Linked DNA regions of Homo sapiens: all the other regions are linked to region 3. The links are contacts of gene promoters, found by promoter capture Hi-C in human tissues and cell types (Jung and others, 2019). All regions are on one chromosome and are shown on one strand. Each heading gives the region's core, a stretch centred on a gene start or on the middle of the fragment in contact. The rest is flanking DNA. Distances are from core to core; before and after follow the strand shown. Region 1 overlaps LOC107985051 (a long non-coding RNA gene). Region 2 holds the start of B9D1 (B9 domain containing 1). Region 3 holds the start of FAM83G (family with sequence similarity 83 member G).

Region 1 (3,237 bases), core at 381-2,880, 390 kb before region 3:
AATCCCTGGAGTTCAAGATCCAGATGAGGGGCCAAGACGTCAAATAATACAAAATGTTATTTGCCATTTTCACTCTCATTCTGTTTCACGTGTACAGTGGAGCTTTTCATAGACATGGTGTGTCATAACATCATAGCTCTAATGGTGAATGGGTCATAGTTCTAAAGGCTTTGGAATGTATGGCTGAGCGTGCTTGTTTTTTTTTGTTCGTTTGTTTGTTTTTTCAGATGGAGTCTCACTCTGTCACCCAGCCTGGAGTGCAGTGGCGCGATCTCGGCTCACTGCAAGCTCCGCCTGCCAGGTTCACACCATTCTCTGCCTCAGCCTCCCGAGTAGCTGGGACTACCGGCGCCCTCCACCACGCCCGGCTAATTTTTTGTATTTTTAGTAGAGACGGGGTTTCACCGTGTTAGCCAGGATGGTCTCGATCTCCTGACCTCGTGATCCGCCCGCCTCGGCCTCCCAAAGTGCTGGCATTACAGGCGTTAGCCACCACGCCTGGCCGCATGCTTGTTTTTAAAATATTTTAGTTTTTATTTCTAAAATAGTAAATATCAAAAGACACAACCGACTTAAATAAAAGCTCTTTGGAATTTGCAATAATTTTTCTTTATTTTAATTATTTATTTATCATTATGAAGAGAGTTTGAGATCCAGTCATTTGATAGAAAACCAGAGCTTCCTGTGTCAATAAGGACTGACCTCAAAAATGTAATGTGACCAGACAAAAGAAAGTTGCAAAATATGTAGAGTGTAAAACAATTTATATACAATTTTAGGACATGAAAACAAATTCTACATATTATTTATGACCATACACATATGTAATAAAATGTTTTAAAAGGGAATGGACATAATAAATTCTTAATTCAGGGTGTTGGTTACCTCTAGGCAATAATATTTAATCATATAAAACGAACCCCAGGCCAAAAAGTTTCAGAATCAATGTTTTAAAAGACTGTGTCCACCATGTAGTTATTAAGGGTAATTAATTGCTTTCTTCGTTTTTGATAATCAAAACACACACACATGATTTGCTGACCAGAATATCTGACTGGCTTAAAATCATCAGTATAGCCACACTATGATGAAATAATTAAACTTAAAGCACAACTAACATATTGGCAAGTAAAGTTTGTCTTATCTGATAAGTTTTGGTGCTGCACGTTCACCTTATATTCTTTCCACCTTTCTAATACCCCACTCTTCTTTTGAAGTATTATCTCATTTTACCACCCTCCATCATATCCACTTGCTTCTTTTCCCTTCATTTACTCTCTGTACTCTCTGCCTTCCACATTCTTTATTCCCCCTTTTACTCTTATCCTCTTCCTTCTATCCTGACATTGCATATCTAGGGTTCAGTAGTATCCACTGTTCCAGGCATTCACTGGGGGTCTTGGAACATAACCCCCATGGATAAGGGGGGAAAACTGTACATTTTATTGTGTAGGTCTATGGGTGCTGTGCTGTGTTCTGTGGCAAAACATAGGGAAGAGACCAGGGATAAGGATCTTTGCAAAGACTTTTCAGCTGCCAGTGGAGAAGAGCTCAAGGGAGATCAATGTACTCACTCTCACTAATCCTCTTCTGGGGCAGATGCTGGCAATGTTTACTGAGTTCTAGCTATTTTCCCTAGCACAAACAAGGCTCAAATTCACCTCCCATTTTACCTCCTATGGACAGAACCACTGGAAAGATCACTCCCTTAAAGAGCTTATTCACTCTGAGCCACACCATTCATTCAGTGAGAAGCTTAAGAAGAAACACTGCCACAGTGGTGGCAGGTTGCCAGGGAGTACTACCTGGTATGAAAAATATATATAAACAGAACTATCAGCTCACTCAAGCTGCCAGAATGTGCCAACAGTTGTTACTCTCTCTGGTGAAAACAACATTATTTTTCATTTATTGTAAAGAAAAACACTGGCATTTCCTATGACAGAGCATTTAGTTGTAGATGAGCCATATTCTAATAATATAGACTGTTTTCAAGCTCATCCCTAAAAGGAAGAGAACCAGAGAGGAACATATTTATTCACCTGTAGTGTTCACTGCCTGATCTTCTTTTTAAGTGCAAGGTAAGTATGCAAGACTTTGTGATTCCAGTTTTATAAAGTCCAGCTCTTGAGATTATCCCGTCCCATCGCTAGACTCTATCTGGACCCATCTCCTAGAGCACGATGGTCCAGTTAGTGCTGTGGAATACTGCATGATGCCATTTTTCCCCACCCTCCCCGTTACGTGGCAAACATCTACAGAAATCACGCTTTCTCAGCACGTCAAATCATACGCCATCAGATCCTGTTCTGATGAACACAACATGAGGAAAACAAACACAAGGACAAAGAACATCTAAAATGACAGAATCAAATTACCATGGAACTTTATTGTTTAAATATTCAAAAAGATATCCACCACTGTTTTATTCCAACTATATGACTAGTCTGGAAAAAGCAAAACTACTGAGACACCAAAAAGACCAATGGTTGCCAGAAACCAGTGGAGAGGAAGAGACGAAACAGTGGAGGACAGAGGATATTTAGGGCAGTGAAACTATTTTGTCTGTGATACTACAAGGGTATATACATGCCATCACACATTTGTCCAACACCATAGAATGTACAAAACCAAGAGTGAACCCTAACGTAGACTGTGGACCTTGGGGGTGATGTGTCTGTCAAGGTAGATTCCTCAACTGTAACTCTGATGAACTCTGATGGGGGGTACTGATAATGAGGGAGGCTATTCATATGTCAGGGGTCATGGGGAATATGGAAAATCTCTGTACCTTCTCAATTTTGCTGTGAATCTAGAACTGCTCAGAAAATAATATTATTAATTCTAAAGCACATACTCACTGAACTTGCTATTACCCTAAATTATAAAAAGACAGAGTCACCTTGAAAATTGCAAATCACTAAAGATCAAGGTAACAGAATACGAGTACTATCTCCGAAATTGAAGCATATAAAAACACATAAAGCAATTAATTTTAATTGTATACTTAGGCAAAAAAAAATTCACAAAAATGATTGAATATCTGATCTTATTTCATAATTGTAAACAGGGATTTAGTACAATATGAATCAAAACTGGTCCATCCATGAAAATAAAATGAAAGACAATTTTTATTCTAATTTTAAATCAGAACTTATTATGCCTACTTTATCCCACAATTTTACTGAAAGGTTAATCAGATAAGAAGGACAGATTATAATTACTTAATATTGCCAT
Region 2 (3,065 bases), core at 272-2,771, 360 kb after region 3:
TGCTTCTATTCCTGCACATCGGGACTCAGGATCCGGGCAACCTCGCGCCAAGCTCTCCAATGCTGGCTCCCCTCCCCCGCCTAACCGAGAGGCTCAGAGGAATGACGTGGCTCTCCGGGGGCCACAGGGCAGCCCGGGGGGTTGCGGGAAGGGCCCCGGGGGACGCTGGGGGGCGGGCCCCGGCGGGGTCCACGGCCGCTCACCTGGGCGCTCTCCACCTGCCCGTTGACCATGAGTAGAAAGACGCTAGGACTCGCGGTCGCCATGGCAGGTCTGGGGGTGCCGGGGGGACCCACCTAGGCCGCGCGCGGTTGCTAAGAGACGCCGGCGTTGCCCTAGAAACAGACGGCGTAGCGCGCAGGACACGTTTCTTGGCAGCGACACCTTCGCGAAGGCCACGCGAGTGCGCGTGTGGCATGCGCAGGCGCAGTGAACGGGCGCCGTTATAAGGGGGCGGGGCACAAGGGGCGGGGATCCACGCCGAGGCTCCACCCCTCCTTAGGGCAGGTATGACCGAGAGCTGGGGCGGGAGCGTTGACCTGTCGGGTAAAGCCAGCCCTACCGCTCGACTCAGTTGCACGCGCAGGGAGTGTGTGTTCACTCTGACTCGGCCCGGCTCCCCGTCCCCGCCGAAGCGCAGAGGCGAATGAGAGCTGAGTCCTGGGGAGCAGCGCTCCGACTCACGCCCTCAGCAAGCCGAGTGTTTAAAATACATTCAGCCACTAGATGTCGCTGTGGCCCCACCGCGAGGACGCGGAGGGAGGCGCTGCAGAGCACGGGCGACGTGACCACAGCTGTCGGGGCTAACTCTGGAATGCCGGGTGCTCGGAGGAGCCTCCCCAGCTGGGGCCAAGCAGCGTCCAAGCAGGTGAAAAGGATGCGCCCCTGTGGCTTGGAGACGCTTGCCCTCGAAAAAGTTTATTAAACAAACTTGGGAGGGACCTCAAGAATCCTTACATCCAAGCCATCGCTCTTTAGTTCGAAGCTGGGGAAACTGAGGCCCGCAGCGGGCGGCGCCTGGCACCCCAATCAGCCAGCGCTCAGGGGAGTTGCTAGCCAAAATCCACGAATCTGTCAAGATACAGTCTTGTATCTTAGTGGCCTGTCACAGAGTAAGCACTTGGTAACTACTAACTTGTTGATAAATGAATAATTGAAGACATCTCCATTTTACAGAGGAGGAAACAGATTCAGATGGCAAAGGCAGGTAAGTAGCTAAGTCAGGATTCAAACCCAGGACTCCAGAGGCTAACAACCCTCACTGCCTCTGTCTTGTCCTGGGCCAGCCCCAACAGCATCTGTTGGCAGAGGTGTCAAAGGAGACGTTGGAGACATTATCTTGGATCCAGGAAATGAAGGGATTCACAGGTGTGTAGACTCCCGGGAGGCCAGGCTCCGAGCAGGGACCCCAGGTCATCACATTCTGCAGCTTCTAGCTTGGGAGCAGACTAGGGGAGTCCCATCAACCATCTGCACGAGGGAGGGAAGGAGCAGTCTCAGCCCAGCCTGCACCCACTGAACCACCCCCTGCCTAGTGAGCAAAGATATTTGATCAGGGGAGGGAGGCAGCGGGTAACCAGTTCACACATCTGACAAGAGCAGCTGGGGGAGGGGATGGGTGGGCTGGTGGCCCAAGTGCTGCACCCAGAGCCCAAGACAGGGCCCATTTCCCCTCCTGGAGAGGGGGTCATACTCCCTTCTTCCCCCGCTCTGTCCATCTCTTTCCAGTTAAAGTGCTTTCTCCCACACATTCTATCAGTCTCACCCAATTATTTCCTCCCTTTGGCCTTTGAGGCTCGGTGTTGCACACAAGTTAGTTTTCAGCAAAATGCTTGTAGTTATCGAATAACTGGGGGCTCCCAGTAGTTTAAGACCTGGCTATACCAAAGGTGGCCCCACATTCAAATAGGACATAATGGGGGAGTCTCCCCAAGGGGTGGGAAGTTCTAGGGTGGCCTTCAGGGGTACAAATAAGCCCGACCCCTGGGTGTTGGGGAATGGAAGACTCCAGGATAGGATGGGAGGGTGACCAGGCCTAACTTTAACAAGTCTAGTGGCATTAGAAGCGACTTTAGGAGAGGGGTCTCAGGGGCTTGCATAGGGGCTTGCATAGGGCCTGCTGGAATCCTTACCACCAGTTCAAGGGCCCAGTGGAGAGCCTGGTGTACTAGAAGTCCTTGGGCAGGCTGTCCTTCAGGTCAGGACAGTCAGGTTGGAGGAGAAGGTAGTTTCTGCAGATGCTGACACACAGCGATCTCAGCAGGACACTCTGCAGCTCTTGGGGTGGGATGTAGGGATCTGCAATGGGGTGGGGCAGACCCTCAGCCCAGCTGACATCCAGCCGATCTGCACCAGTCCAGCCATGCTGGTTGTTAACATATATTGCTGAGCTTCCCTGCCTGTGCCTGTGCCAAGTCTCTCCACCCCCAGATGCCTTCCTGGGCTCCTAGACATTCCTCGCTCCCACCTCACTCTTAGTACAGCTCTGTCCTCTGGTACACTCCCACGCAGTCCCCTCAGGGAAGCTTCCAGCACATTGGGCAGGCGGGGCTGTCAGCCATTGGGCAGGGGTGAGGCTGGAAGCTGGCTTGAGCAGAGCAGGTGTCAGCGCCAGCCCTCTTCCCTGCATGCCTATGGCCATGGTGCTGCCGGGCAGCTGGCCAGAGCCCCTGCAGGGTCCCAAGCTCCACCCTGGCCATCTGCCTCCCCCAGTCTCTCAACCATCCCAGGCTTCTGCTCCCATCCTTACTGAAATCGGGTTCAAACCCCTGGCCCCAGCAGAGCTGTCTCAGGAAGAGGGAACAGTGGGATTGAGTGGCCAGGGGGACGGCCTGCACAGCGCTGGTGAGCGACGGAGGCCTTGCCCCTTGCCAGTTGTGCCAGGACCAGGCTACCAAACCCAGAGCCCTCGGGCCCTGCTGAGGACAAGAGCAGCTCCCCCATGGTAACCTGATCTCACAAGAGTCCATCTGCAGTCGATCTGGACCCAAGGTCACACTGAAGTGGGACCAAGGCCAACTGTGGAGAGAGGAGGTGAAGGGGAGGTGGAGAGCTGGAGAGGCTGG
Region 3 (3,337 bases), core at 114-2,613:
CAGCAGAGATCCCTAGAAGCCCATGTTGGGCTCCCGTTTTGGGCTCTGAGTGAGCCTGTATTGAGAGGGGTCCGGTGGCTGGTTGGGCCATGGCTCCAGGAGTCCCCGCGCTGCCTCACCTTCTGTGCCTGGCTGATCATCTTCCGCACCACCTCTTTGATGTGGGCCTGCCCGTCTATGGGGGGCTGCATGTAGACGCTAGCCCGGGTCACGCCGCGGTAGGCGATGGTGTCGGGCCAGCCCAGGTCCAGCTGCGGGATGGAGCGGTCCGACTTCTGGGGCCAGTACTCCAGGGAGGGCAGCGGCTCGGCCTCGATGGGGACCCCATCCGCCCCGCTGGCTTCCTCGCCGTCGCCGACCCCATTGTCCTCGGGCCCCTGAGAGGGGCCCGTGCCCCGAGGGTCCTCAGAGCCCGGGTCGTACACCTCGATGGTCTCCAGGATGCGCTTGAGCTCCAGCTCCGAGAGGAAGTCTCGGATGTTCTCCCGCTTGAGCACCTCGTAGAAGGCGTCCCGGCCGCGGGCCACCAGGGCCTCCAGCGCCAGCCGCTGCTCCTCGCTGTAGAAGAACTCAGGCTTGGACTCGCTGGAGCGCCAGTTCACATGGTTGTCGTCCAGACACTGCACCTGAGAGAAGGCCATGGCGCCGCCTGCCCGGGCACTGCTGCCGGGGGTGGGTGGGCAAGGTCCAGCTCCTAGCTCCGGCCCAGCTGGGGCACCGCGCGCTCGGGGGCCTCTCCGCGGCCTCTGCTTCTCTGCCCATGAGCAATCTGCGGGAAAGACCTGATGAGCCCGGCTCGGCGGGGAGGGCGGGCCGCGCGGGGAGGGGCGGCGGGGGCGGGGCCGGGAACTCAGGTGGGCGTGGGAAGGACGGGGCTGGGGCTGGGGCTGGGAAGATGAGGTGGGGGCACTGGACTGGGATGGGAAGAAAGTAAGGGATCGGAACAGCGGTGAGGGAGCGGTGGGCCACGTCCCAGGGCTCAGCGTGCCTCTACGTGCAGGGAACCCATATCCCAGATTTCCGGAGCTGCCTGAAGTCCTCGCAACTTCTGAGGGAAACTAGGGCAGCCGGGGAACTTCCCAGTAGCTTCTTAGAGTGGGAGGCGGCCCCGGCACAGAGGCGCCCCGCAAACCGAGGGCTTCCGGGTAAGGGAGGGGTCTTAAAATTTCCGGGTGCCGGCAACCCAGGAGGCCTGCCCGGAGGAGGCTGGGGCTCTGGGAGGGGTCCAGGAGACCCAGAAACGCGGTTGCGGGGCGGCGACGCCCCGCGAGACCCGGGATCCGGGGGGCGCGGCCGGGACTTGCTTACCGAGCGGGCGCTGGCGGAGCGGGGCGCACACGCGGCGGCTGCGGCGGCGGCGCGAGGCTGGGCGGGGGCGCGCCGGTGACTCAGGGCCGCCCCGCTTACCCCGCCGCCGCCACCTGCGGTCACGTGCCGCCCGGGGCGGGGCCGGAAGCTGATTCACCCCTCGACAGACAGACAGACCTGGGGCGGACGCACTGCCCACGGTCCCCTGGTGCCCGAATTCCGAAAATATCAGAGGCCTAAGCCCAAGAGCTCCTGGAACACCCATCCCAGAGAGGGACAGTGTTCTCCCTGAGGTCACACAGCGGGTCAACAGCCTTGGCACCCCCCTGTGCCCCCAGGGTCTGTTGGTGATCCTGGATCAACCCTGGCTGTGCCCAGTTTCGCCGGCGTGGCGGGAAGTCCGTGCGGCTGTATAGATACCCAGCTGTCCAGTTGTGGAAACAGGTCTAGGGTACTGGGCTGGGAGCCCCCAGGCAGGGATAGGGCACTGACTGACCCAAACTCAGGGCTTTCCTGAGCAGATACCCAGTTCTCAGTCCTAAGCCCTGATCCCCTCTGGGAGGGGTCCCCGGACTGCTTCTGCGTGGCGGGCAGCACCCGACCTGAACCCTAGGGCAGGGAGGGGCCAAGAGGGCCGCTGTGGGCTGGGGTCAGGCCCAGCTCTCTGCTGAGCGTCCCCTGGGGTTGGGACCCTGGTTATGGGGAGCGTGGAGACCACATCTGAAGGCAGGCTTTGAGGGTGGGACAGCAAAGCCCATTAAATCTGGCCCAACAAACAGCCCCCACCCCATCGCGTGCCGCAGCCAGTCTGCCCGGCACCAGGCCCAGCCCTTCCTCCCATCCCCCATACTTGCTCTGGATCTGGATGGGGCTGGTTTGGGTCCCGTAAGGATGCTGCTTCCGTAGGCTGGTGACATCTCTAGGCCTTGTGCCCTCAAACCCCCCCCCTCCAAGGCCTTCTCCACCATTCATGGCCCATCAGGACTCCTTGCCTCTGAGTCCACTGCCCTGGGCAATGACTAGCCTCCTAGGCCCAGCATCCTTGTGGTCCCCATCACTGACCCCTCAAGCATGAAGTCCTACACTCTGCCATATAGCCCCCCAAGGGCTTTATGCTACTGAACATAGTGGCCCCTGGGGAACAGGCACACATATTTGCATCCTCCTCCTGCCCCAGGGCCAGAGAGGGGAGGTGATCCCAGCGGGGGAGCCCTGCCTTGAGGGTCCTGAAGACCCATTTATAGCCCCTCTGCTACTGTGGATCCCCTGTAAGACCTTCTCTGAGCCGCCTCAGCTTCTCCCTGTGTTCTTACCAATGCACAGAGGCTGGAGAGTTCAGGAAGGGAGTCCAAGGCCTCACTCCCACCTCCACCACCCCAACACTTCTGCAGTTGATGAGCAGGAAGGTTGTATGCACCCAGTTTTCCCCAGTAGCGACGTTTTGCATAACTATAATACAATAATATCACAGCCAGAAAATTGACACTGGTGCAATCCACAAAGCTTATTTAGATTTCACCAGTTTTTTGTTTGTTTTGGGACAGGGTCTTGCTCTGTCACCTAGGCTGGAGTGCAGTGGTATGTACAATCATTGCTCAATGCAGCCTTGAACTCCTGGGCTCAAGCCTCAGCCTCCTGAGTAGCTGGGACCAGAGACACCATGCCCAGCTAATTTTTTTTCTTTTTTCTTTTTTCTTTTTTTTTTTTTTTTGTAGAGACAAGGCCTCACTATGTTGCTCAGACTGGTCTCAAACTCCTGGCCTCAAGTGATTCTCCCACCTTGGCCTCCCGAAGTTCTGGGATTATAGGCGTGAGCCACTGCACTGGCCAGATTTCACCAGTTTTACATGCACTCATTTATGTGTGTTATACAACCTTATTATGTGTATAGATTTGTGTAACCACCATTACAGTCAAGATACAGAACTGTTCTGTCACTACAAAGATCTCCTTCTCTGTAGCCATCCCCACACCTCCCCCGACCACCATTCCTAACTTCTGGCAACCACTAATCTATTCTACAATTCAA

Evidence for each region. Contacts are between HindIII fragments. The study calls those that stand out against the background at their distance.
Region 1: a fragment that was not itself captured here is called in contact with the fragment with the promoter of FAM83G in region 3 in 1 of the 25 tissues and cell types used here (hippocampus).
Region 2: a contact is called between a fragment that was not itself captured here and the fragment with the promoter of FAM83G in region 3, in 1 of the 25 tissues and cell types used here (spleen).

Annotation. Positions count from the first base shown.
Region 1 is chr17:18,611,414-18,614,650 of GRCh38, forward strand. LOC107985051 (a long non-coding RNA gene) reads left to right here. Exons shown (of 3, transcript XR_001752812.2): 3 at 228-3,237. It also overlaps the pseudogene CCDC144BP. Among named protein-coding and RNA genes, the nearest start is that of TBC1D28, 31 kb to the right of the region's middle. The HindIII fragment of the contact is 7,367 bases long and covers 1-3,237 here.
Region 2 is chr17:19,362,304-19,365,368 of GRCh38, forward strand. It overlaps B9D1 (B9 domain containing 1), which reads right to left and starts at 420. Exons shown (of 7, transcript NM_015681.6): 1 at 204-420. The coding sequence starts at 266. LOC105371573 (a long non-coding RNA gene) reads left to right here and starts at 474. Exons shown (of 3, transcript XR_934302.4): 1 at 474-868; 2 at 1,177-1,207. RefSeq lists enhancers at 1-19, 479-1,263, 820-889 and a silencer at 60-329. The HindIII fragment of the contact is 4,902 bases long and covers 1-3,065 here.
Region 3 is chr17:19,003,401-19,006,737 of GRCh38, forward strand. It overlaps FAM83G (family with sequence similarity 83 member G), which reads right to left and starts at 1,364. Exons shown (of 6, transcript NM_001039999.3): 1 at 1,309-1,364; 2 at 120-769. The coding sequence starts at 641. The region is part of intron 9 of SLC5A10 (solute carrier family 5 member 10); the gene reads left to right. RefSeq lists silencers at 1,236-1,535, 3,056-3,337. The HindIII fragment of the contact is 10,221 bases long and covers 1-3,337 here.